Regions from separate parts of the Homo sapiens genome. Here region 2 is linked to region 1. Evidence: promoter capture Hi-C in 16 types of primary human blood cells and fetal thymus (Javierre and others, 2016). All regions are on one chromosome and are shown on one strand. The core of a region is centred on a gene start or on the middle of the fragment in contact, and the rest is flanking DNA. Distances in the headings are between cores, read along the strand shown. Region 1 holds the start of ENTPD2 (ectonucleoside triphosphate diphosphohydrolase 2). Region 2 holds the start of LCN10 (lipocalin 10).

Evidence for each region. The method cuts DNA at HindIII sites, captures the fragments that hold promoters and counts their contacts. A CHiCAGO score of 5 or more calls a contact.
Region 2: the fragment with the promoter of LCN10 here is called in contact with the fragment with the promoter of ENTPD2 in region 1 in 6 of 17 cell types (erythroblasts, fetal thymus, M0 macrophages and 3 more); the score reaches 6.2 in erythroblasts.

Annotation. Positions count from the first base shown.
Region 1 is chr9:137,052,811-137,057,906 of GRCh38, reverse strand. ENTPD2 (ectonucleoside triphosphate diphosphohydrolase 2) reads left to right here and starts at 3,846. Exons shown (of 9, transcript NM_203468.3): 1 at 3,846-4,026. The coding sequence starts at 3,910. It overlaps LOC105376327 (a long non-coding RNA gene), which reads right to left. Exons shown (of 2, transcript XR_930455.2): 1 at 5,032-5,096; 2 at 4,532-4,897. RefSeq lists silencers at 3,611-3,690, 3,791-3,860. The HindIII fragment of the contact is 4,509 bases long and covers 3,725-5,096 here.
Region 2 is chr9:136,741,083-136,745,303 of GRCh38, reverse strand. LCN10 (lipocalin 10) reads left to right here and starts at 2,364. Exons shown (of 6, transcript NM_001001712.3): 1 at 2,364-2,517; 2 at 3,284-3,423; 3 at 3,943-4,052. The coding sequence starts at 2,401. It overlaps LCN6 (lipocalin 6), which reads left to right. Exons shown (of 7, transcript NM_198946.3): 4 at 24-134; 5 at 563-664; 6 at 940-965; 7 at 1,162-1,287. The coding sequence ends at 642. RefSeq lists a silencer at 2,860-2,959. The HindIII fragment of the contact is 7,084 bases long and covers 1-4,221 here.

The DNA of each region.
Region 1 (5,096 bases), core at 2,597-5,096:
AATGCTCACAGTGCCAGCTAGAGCCATCGTTCAGAAAAGAATTTGGCACTTGCTAGAGAAGCAGAACACACACTTGCCTGACAACCAGCAGTTCAGATCCGGGATGCTCCCCAGAGAAGTGCTCTCAAGAGCACACATGCGGCCGGCGCAGCGGCTCACACCTGTCACCCCAGCACTGTGGGAGGCCGACGCAGACGGAGAGGCCGGGCGCGGTGGCTCACACCTGTCATCCCAGCACTGTGGGAGGCCGAGGCAGGCGGGTCGCCTGAGGTCAGGAGTTTGAGACCAGCCTGGCCAATATGGTGAAACCCTGTCTCTACTAAAAATACAAAATTAGTGGGGAATGGTTATAGGCGCCTGTAATCCGAGTTGCTCAGGAGGCTGAGGCGGGAAATCGCTTGAACCCAGGAGGTGGAGGTTGCAGTGAGCTGAGATCGCGCCACTGCACTCCAGCCTGAGCGATAGGGCCAGACTCCACCTCAGATAAAAAATAAAATTAAAAAAAAGAGTGTATATGTGCAGAGCAGCAATCTCAGCAAAGCCTAAAGCCAGACACTGTGTGTTCACCAGCTGCAGCGACACGCCGTCTGCATGTTCTCACTCACAGGATGGAATACAGCAAGGAACAAACAAGCCACACCTCTCAGTGTCAACAGGGTGAATCCCAAACGCGTAACGTGAGTGAAAGAAGCAAGTCCCAGAACAGCACGTCCAGCACATCAGAGACCACCAATGGGGTCCTGCTGCCACCCTGGCATTGCTCTTACCAACTGTGCATATGTGCACCTCCCATTCTGTTGTGTCTCCGACCTCGAACAGGACAGCACAGGCTTCCCCGCCTCCCGTGGGCCTTTGCAAAGTCTGCTCTCCCCAGGCCAGTGGGTGCCCTCCCCACAGGGCTCCCTGTGCATGCATGGAGCCTGGCGTGCTTTGGGCACCCAGGAGTACTACTCAGCAAGCGTTTGTTGAATGACTTAATGAGCACCTGCAGAAAGGGAGCAGTGAGTGAAAGGCCTTTCACAATTAAACCATCAAGGTGTTTCGGCCACAGCACAAGTTTCTTTTTTTTTTTTCTTTTGAGATGGAATCTCGCTCTGTCGTCCAGGCTGGAGTGCAGTGGTGCAGTCTCAGCTCACTGCAACCTCTGCCTCCCAGGTTCAAGCGATTCTCTTGCCTCAGCCTCCCAAATAGCTGGAATTACAGGTGTCTGCCACTACAGCCGACTAATTTTTTTTTTTTTTTTGACTCGCTCTGTCACCCAGGCTGGAGTGCAGTGGCGCGATCTTGGCTCACTGCAAGCTCCGCCTCCCGGGTTCACACCATTCTCCTGCTTCAGCTTCCCGAGTAGCTGGGACTACAGGTGCCCGCCACCACGCCCGGCTAATTTTTTGTATTTTTAGTAGAGATGGCATTTCACTGCGTTAGCCAGGATGGTCTTGATCTCCTGACCTGATGATCCGCCCGCCTCAGCCTTCCAAAGTGCTGGGATTACAGGAGTGAGCCACCGCGCCCGGCCCACAACCGGCTAATTTTTGTATTTCTATTAGAGACGGCGTTTCACCATGTTGGCCAGGCTGGTCTTGAACTCCTGACCTTAAGTGATCCACCTGCCTCAGCTTCCCAAAGTGCTGGAATTACAGACGTGAGCCACACAGCACAAGCTTCTGATGTGGAGACTGAGGCAGGGCAGCCAAGATGTCAGCAGGCCTCAGGAAAGCCCCCCTCCCTGGGAGGTCTGAGCCCTGCGTGGGCGGGAGGCTCCGAGTTCCCTCCCCCAGGGGTTCTCCCCTAACCTCTCTGCATCCGCATGTTCCCAGCTCAGCCGGGGTCATGTGCAGCACATCTGGAGGCCCCATCCCCGAGAGGGTCCTGGAAGCCGAGAGCTGCCCCACCCAGAGGCCCCTCCACCCCTTCAGCTCCTGCCAGCTTCCCTCTGACGCTCTCCCAAGTCTGCCTTCCAGGGTCCCTGAGTCCATGCCAGGAAGGGGCGTTCCCCCGCCCTCACTCCGTCTCAAAGAGAGCTCAGCCTCAGCCTTTGTCCTGGCCGCTCTGGGCTCCCTGCCTCTCCCTCCGCAGGCGAAGCTGGGCACTCGGCCATGAGCCTGTCTCCCCGGGGCAGAGTCCAGCTCCCCTCTCCCTCCCCATCCTCTCAGGCCTGGCAGACCTCCCACTCCCTGGCTTGAGCTTTTTGTCCATGAAAAGAGTCCAGAACACCAGGAAGCCCCGCTGGGCCTGGAGGGAAGCGGGGTACCGCAGGCCAGTGGGGGTCGCAGCACCCTGCCTCTGGGCGGCCTTTGTTCCTTCCTTTTCAGGCATGATGTGCACTGTGCGTGCCTCTCCCTCCTCTGGGCGGTCAGGGGTGGAAGAAAGGCCTGGGGTGTGTGGGGGGAAACTGGGGCCTGGGGCCTGGAGCTTAGCACCGGCAACACCCAGAGATTGCCTGCTGGAGCCCCGCCAGGCTGGGCTGTGAGGCTGAGGCAGCAGAGAGGCTTCCCAGGGTTCCCACCCCTCCCTTTGGGGTCCTGAGCTGGAAGAAAGATGCCTTTACTGGGCCTGTGGCGCCAGACCCTCAGCCCAGGCAGCAATCCCAGCACAATTGTCACTGCCCGTTCCAGAAGGCCGGGCATGGTCTGGACCCTGCCCCATGGGGCTGCCCTTTGGGCCCCAGCAGCCTGCACTCCCTGGTGGCCTTGCCTCGTGGCTCCCTGACGCTGTGTGGCTGGAATTATTGGGACAAGAATTCCCACTTTGCAGCAGGCGCAAAGGGGGTGGCCCCTGGCCGGGCTGGGATGCGGGGCCTGTGAGGCTGCAGAGCCGAAAGGCCAGCCATGTCGTGGGACGGAGGAGCAGGGCTTGCGTCTGGGGCCAGCTGCGCTTCGCCTGCCCCAGCCGTCCCCAGAAGCCTGTTGCTGACCCGCACCCCAAGCTTGGCCTGGGGACCCTCTTCCTTGCCTTTCAGGCCACGTAGAGGCCCCACCTGTTTCCGTCCTGGGGAAGCCTCCTCTGGCCTCCGCAGCCCAAGCCTCTGTTCCCCTCAGGCCGAGGGGGCAGCAGGCGCGGCTGAGGCCCTGGGCTGGGAGGTATGGACCTTTGGCCCGGTCTGTGCTGCTTCTCCTGTTTCTCGGCTCGGTGTGACCTGGGCCGTCCCTCCCCTTCCCCGTTCCTGCGTCCTCACCTTCACCTCAGTACAGGGCCCAGGTGAGGTGGATCTGACTGGGCCTCAAGGGTAGTTCTGGCCTGGGTCAGCTGCGTGTCTCTGGAGCTGACCTGCGCTGGCTCAGCGCCGCAGGCTGGCGGATCCTTGCTGGCCGGGAGGGCATCCCGCAGGCCAGCCTGGTCCTCACCAGCCCTGGGAGTTGGCGCTCAGGGCCCTGCTCCACAAACAGGTGCTGACCCTCGGCTTCCTCCTGAGTCCCCAGCCCGGGCCCCGCGTGGCTCCGCAGCCGACAGTGCCTCATTCCTGCAAGCGAGTCTGGCCTCCTTTCCCGGGCCCGGGAAAAGCGCGGCTCTCCAGCACAGGACCCTCCGAGCCAGCCTCGCCCGCCCACCCCCACGCCAGGTCTCCTGCCTCCACGGCCGGGGGATCCCCTTGCTGAGTGGGCGGGAAGGGGAAGGTGGGCCATAGCCGCGGGGCGCCCGGGCTCAGACCCGGGAGCCGGGGGGCGGTGCTGGTGACTCAGCCGCGCCCGCGTCTCTCACCTGCGCGGGCCGGACGGCGGAAGCTTGGGAGCGGAGGCGAAACCTGTCCGCCCGTGGGCGTGGCCGGTGATGGGCGGGCCCGCCCGGCCTCCCGCCCCTCGTCCCGCCCCGGGGCCCCTACCCCGCGGTCCCGCGGCCCCGCCCGCCTCCGCCTCCGGCTCCCCGCACTCTCCGGGTCCACGCATCGTCCTCCCGCGCGCCCGCCCGCCCATGGCCGGGAAGGTGCGGTCACTGCTGCCGCCGCTGCTGCTGGCCGCCGCGGGCCTCGCCGGCCTCCTACTGCTGTGCGTCCCCACCCGCGACGTCCGGGAGCCGCCCGCCCTCAAGGTGCGCGCCCGGGCACCCAGCGCACGTCTGGGGAGCAGCGGGCCGGGCTTGGAGCCGGGGAGGGGGTGCGGCTGGGAACCTGAGCAGGATCAGCCCGGGACCCCCACCGTGCTCTGCTCCTGGCGGGCTGGGTGGGGTCCCGGGTTCCGCGCTCTGCGCTCCCCGACCGGGTACGCGGAGGGGGCGGGGGGCGGTGGCGCTTCCAGGGCGACGCGGTGCTGAAGGAACAAGTCCCGGGAGTTCCGCGCCCGCCGCCGAGTCCGTCAACGCAGCCCAGGGGCTGTGTCCCCGCTCCCGGGATAGCCCAGCGATGCCCCCTGGGTGCTGCCGGACGCCCGCCCCCAGGCCTGTGCGGGCCCCCAGGGGCACTCCGGGCCACTTCTGCCCTGTGCCGCCGCCCCGGAGGGTGCGGTTAGAGCCACATCGACTGGGTATTCAGCCCAGATGGGGATCCACAAGCCCCAGGACCCAGGGCCCCCGCCAGGACACGAGAGTGGCCCAGAAAGACAGGAGGGCTTGACCGGAGCAGCCCTGGCCGGTCCTCAAAAGGTTGGAGCAGGCTAGCCTGGATCTCCACTCCAGCAGGCCCAGGGACCTCCTGGTCGGCCCCTTTAACCCTTTATTGGGCTTGTAGGGGGGTGGGGTGGAGAGCCAAGTCCCCCAGCCTGATGGGGAGTCAGAAGCAGGGAGCTCTGCGGCCCTGCAGGACGGCCATGTGGCGGTGCACGCGCTGACCTGTTGATGCTCTGGGCTCTGGGGAAGCCTTGGTCGGGATGGACTGGTGCGGCCCTCTCGGAGGCTGGAATTGGCGCCCGGGCCTGGGAGGCTGGTCCCCAGCTTTCCAGGTGGATCCAGGATGCTGGGGCAGGAGCTGGAAAAGGGCATTTACAAGCTCGTGCCACTCAGGTCTGCAGGAAGGCCCACCCAGCACCCCCAACAAGGCAGGGCCAGCCTCTCTCTCTGGCCCTGGCTTGGAGGCCTAGGGAGAGTGTCTTTAGAGCTGACCTGGCTCTGAGGCCCACGGCCAGCCTCGGTGGACCTTCTTCACCTGGGGCCCTGCCTCCTGCATC
Region 2 (4,221 bases), core at 1,115-3,614, 310 kb after region 1:
AGGCGGGGGGTTTTGTTTCCTAGCAATAGGCGTGCTGGAGCTCTGGGTGCTGGCCACCAACTTCAGAGACTATGCCATCATCTTCACTCAGCTGGAGTTCGGGGACGAGCCCTTCAACACCGTGGAGCTGTACAGTAAGTGTGCTGTGCGGGGCCCACGTAGGGAGCTGTGTGGTGCGTGGGCCACTCGGGGCCCACGTTGGGAGCTGTGTGGTGCGTGGGCCGCTTGGGGGCCGCGTGGGGAGCTGTGTGGTGAGTGGGCCGCTCGGGGGCCATGTGGGGAGCTGTGTGGTGAGTGGGCCGCTTGGGGCCACATGGGGAGCTGTGTGGTGAGTGGGCCGCTCGGGGGCCATGTGGGGAGCTGTGTGGTGGGTGGGCCGCACAGGACCACATGCAGGCCAAGTTCCCCCACCTTGAGGCTCGCTGCACTGGAGGTGGCTTTGGAAGGACCGGGGCCAGCATCCCAGGGCAGGTGGCCTCCTTCCTGACCCTTCCCAGCCCCTCCCCGGCCCCTCCCCAGCTCTCAGAGGTTGCTTCCCCCTGCACTGCCCTGGTGCCCCCAGGTCTGACGGAGACAGCCAGCCAGGAGGCCATGGGGCTCTTCACCAAGTGGAGCAGGAGCCTGGGCTTCCTGTCACAGTAGCAGGCCCAGCTGCAGAAGGACCGTGAGTGTCCACCGGAGCAGCCTCGGGGGAGGCTTGGGGCAAGTTCTGGAGCCCACAGGGCGTGATGGGGTGACAGAGACCCTGGGGTTGATTCTGGCTTCTGCCTGACTCAGTCGCCCTGAAGGAGTCAGGCAGGCTGAGGGGGTCTTCACCTGCCCCTGCCCAAAGTCAGGCCTGGGGGTCTTGTCCCCACGGCAGGCGAGTCTTGTGGGTGGGGCCCTGGGGTGCTGGGGGGCTCAGTCCTTTTTCACAGCCAGTCTTGCCTCCCCTTCTAGTCACCTGTGCTCACAAGATCCTTCTGGTAAGCCGCCATCCTGAGCCTCACCCTGGGCTCTCTTGGGGGAAGGGGGTGGGGGAGGCCACCCTACGCACAGTGGGTGGGAGGACCCTCTGCCCAAGCCCACGGGGTTCATGGCTCCACTGTCTCTAAGGCAGCTGAGGGTGTGGAGGAGCCTCCATGGTGGGCTGGGCCCCCTCACACTCCTCTTGGTTTTCAGTGAGTGCTGCGTCCCCAGTAGGGATGGCGCCCACAGGGTCCTGTGACCTCGGCCAGTGTCCACCCACCTCGCTCAGCGGCTCCCGGGGCCCAGCACCAGCTCAGAATAAAGCGATTCCACAGCAAACCAAGGATGCTTTTGACTGGGGGCCAGCCGGGGAATTGCGGGGAGGATGGCGGGGGTCGTCACCAAGGGCCAAGCCACAGAACCATAGAGCCAGCTGCAAAGAAGACGCGTGCCCAACCCAGTCCCTTGCCAGAGCCCCTCTGGGTCTTCAGACACCCAAACTCAGGCCCGGGCTCAGAGGCGGGGGCTGGTCAGAGGACACAGCCTGGGAGGAAGCCAGCAGTGAGCTCCACCAGGACCGCAGCTGGGGTGCCAGAGGCTCCAAGGACTGCCCAGGACAAGAGAGAGGTGGCTGGTGGGGCTCAGAGCAGCCCCTGACTCCCCAGGCTCAGGCTTCTCTGGGCTGGGGTTGTGTCTCTTGCCTGGGCAGGGGCAGGGACCCCAGACACCTGAGCCTGCAGGTCCTCCTGTGTTCTGATGGGTGTGGGGGGCTGCGCTGCCTGCCGTCCTGGGAGAAGCACAGGCCATGGGGGTCTCGGGGCTGGATGGGGGGCTGGGGACTGTGTGAGGCTCATGCTGGAGTGAGGCGAGGTGCACACAGATGCCTTGACCTGCAAGGCTGGGCATGCACACGCATGCACATGTGAGCACACACCCACACATGCACACACACACATTCATGGGCACGGGCACACAGCCCCGGCCCGCCCTTCGGCACCTGCTCAGGTGCTTGGTGCCAGGCCCTCAAGAAGGTGGTGGGGGCTGTGTGTGTGGCTGCCGCGCAGAGCTCACCATGTCCACATCTGCCCCAGAAGGGCCACGACCAGCCCTTTGCCTGTCACCTGGGAGGTCTAGGATGAGGGCCAGGGCTTAATGAGTCTCAGGGGCACACACAGTGACCCCAGGCCGGGCACTGAGGGCAGGAGGGTCCTGGGGCCTCAGAGGGGCCTCTGTCTGCCAGGGCAGCCCAGGCCAGCAGTGACCACCAGGTGGGGCAGTGCCGGCTTCCCTGGAGTGTCTGGGGGTGGTCCCTGGGCGGGGAGAGGGTAGCAGAGCCCAAGGCCACACCTGTTGCCTCCCTCCGCTCCCTCCCCTCCCTCCTCTCCCGACACAGGCTGGCGGCTCCAGAGAGGTTTAAACACTGGCCTTGGCGGCTGAGGGAGGAGGGTGAAGATGAGGCAGGGGCTGCTGGTGCTGGCGCTGGTGCTGGTGCTGGTGCTAGTGCTGGCTGCAGGGTCCCAGGTGCAGGAGTGGTACCCCAGGGAGTCCCACGCCCTCAACTGGAACAAGGTGAGCCATGTGCCACTGGTCCCTGAGCCGGGCGCCGGCTCTGGAGCTGGAGCAGGCTCCTGCACAGTCTCCCGGCAGCCGCCCAGGAGCAGGGCTACCAGCAGTTCCAGGCACGGGCGCTGCCCACCTGGCCTCTCCCACTGCAGCCTCCAGCACAGGGGCCCCGCAAGTTGCAGGGCAAAGGCAGGGAGCCTCGAGGGGGTTCGGGGGCCCAGGGGGGTCAGGGAGGGCCAGGGTGGAGGGGCCCAGAGAGCTGTGGCCGAGGAGGTCGGGAGACGCCCAGAGTGCAGAGTGGGTGTGGAGCAAGCGGGGCATATTCTGTAGCGGGAGGGCCCGGGCACCTGCTGAGTGAGCCGTGGGAGCAGCACTCATTGGCACGGCGGTGCCCAGGGCGCTAGGGTTGGCAGCAGGCAGAGTTGGGGGCCGGGGGCCGGCAGGAAGGGAAGTGGCCGAGCAGTACCCAGCCCCCAGGAGGCCATGTGGGAAGGAGCCGGGGCCTCTGAGGTAGGGGGCCTCCCACCTGCTGGCGCCCACAGCCCAGCCCTTTGCTGCCTGGGGTCCCTGACCAGCCGGGCACCTGCTTCTCTGCAGCCCTGCTCCAGTGGCCAGGGCTTGAGTGGCCGGGACCGAGGCGGCACCTGGGCGGAGCTGGGACTCCGGCTCACAGAAGGGTCATTTGTCTCCTGGGTTCTCTAGCTGGGAACCTCGGGGGTGGGGACAGCCCCCGGTGGCAGCTCCTGTCCCCGCCCACACATCCGCTGCGCAGTTTTCAGGGTTCTGGTACATTCTGGCCACTGCCACTGATGCCCAGGGATTCTTGCCGGCCAGGGACAAGAGGAAGCTGGGGGCGTCCGTGGTAAAGGTGAACAAAGTGGGCCAGCTCCGCGTGCTCCTCGCCTTCAGACGGTGAGTGGGCAGCGCCCCCCAGGCAAGGGTCTCCCCTTCCAGGAGGAGGGAGCTGCCTCGGGGCTGGAAAGGAGTCTGGGAGGAGCCTGTCTGTCTGGAAGTTCCACAAGAACCGTCCCCCCACTTCCTCCCCCTAAACTCAGAGGAAGCCACCTGCAGCCCCTGGGACCCCACATGGGTGGGTGTTGGGAGGAAGCTGCCTGCAGACCTTGGGACCCCACATGGGTAGGTGTTGGGAGGAAGCCGCTTGCAGCTCCTGGGCCCCACACGGGTGGGTGTTGGGAGTTTCTCTCGTGCCGTGGGACAGGCCCCAGTCCGAATTGGAAAATCCTCAAACCACAGAGCCTCAGATTGACACGAGTTGGATAGTGAAGCAAAAAACTGGGGACCTGGGGCCCCAACCTTCCCGGGTCCCACGGGAGCAGGGGCGGGACCGAGACGTGTGGGTGGGGCTCGGTGGCTGGCAGGCGGGAGGAGGGGTTCCCTGGTCTGCAGCCTGAGCCCCCGCCTTGGCCCCAGGTTGAAGGGGTGCCAGTCCCAGGAGGTGATCCTGAGGAAAGACGGGAAGAAGCCGGTGTTTGGGAACGCCTGTGCATACGCGGCGGGCCCGAGGGAAGGACAGGAGGGAGGTGTGCTTGGGCTCTGGGCCCTGGAGGAGCTGCGTGATATGCCTCTGACCCCCCTGTGCCTTGAGCAGGCCCCTTGTCCCCGAGAGCACGTGGCAGGCAGGCGTCAGGCTGGCTGTGTTCCCAGAGCCCACACGTCATGTGCTGGGCGGCCTGGCCCGGGAGGGGAGGC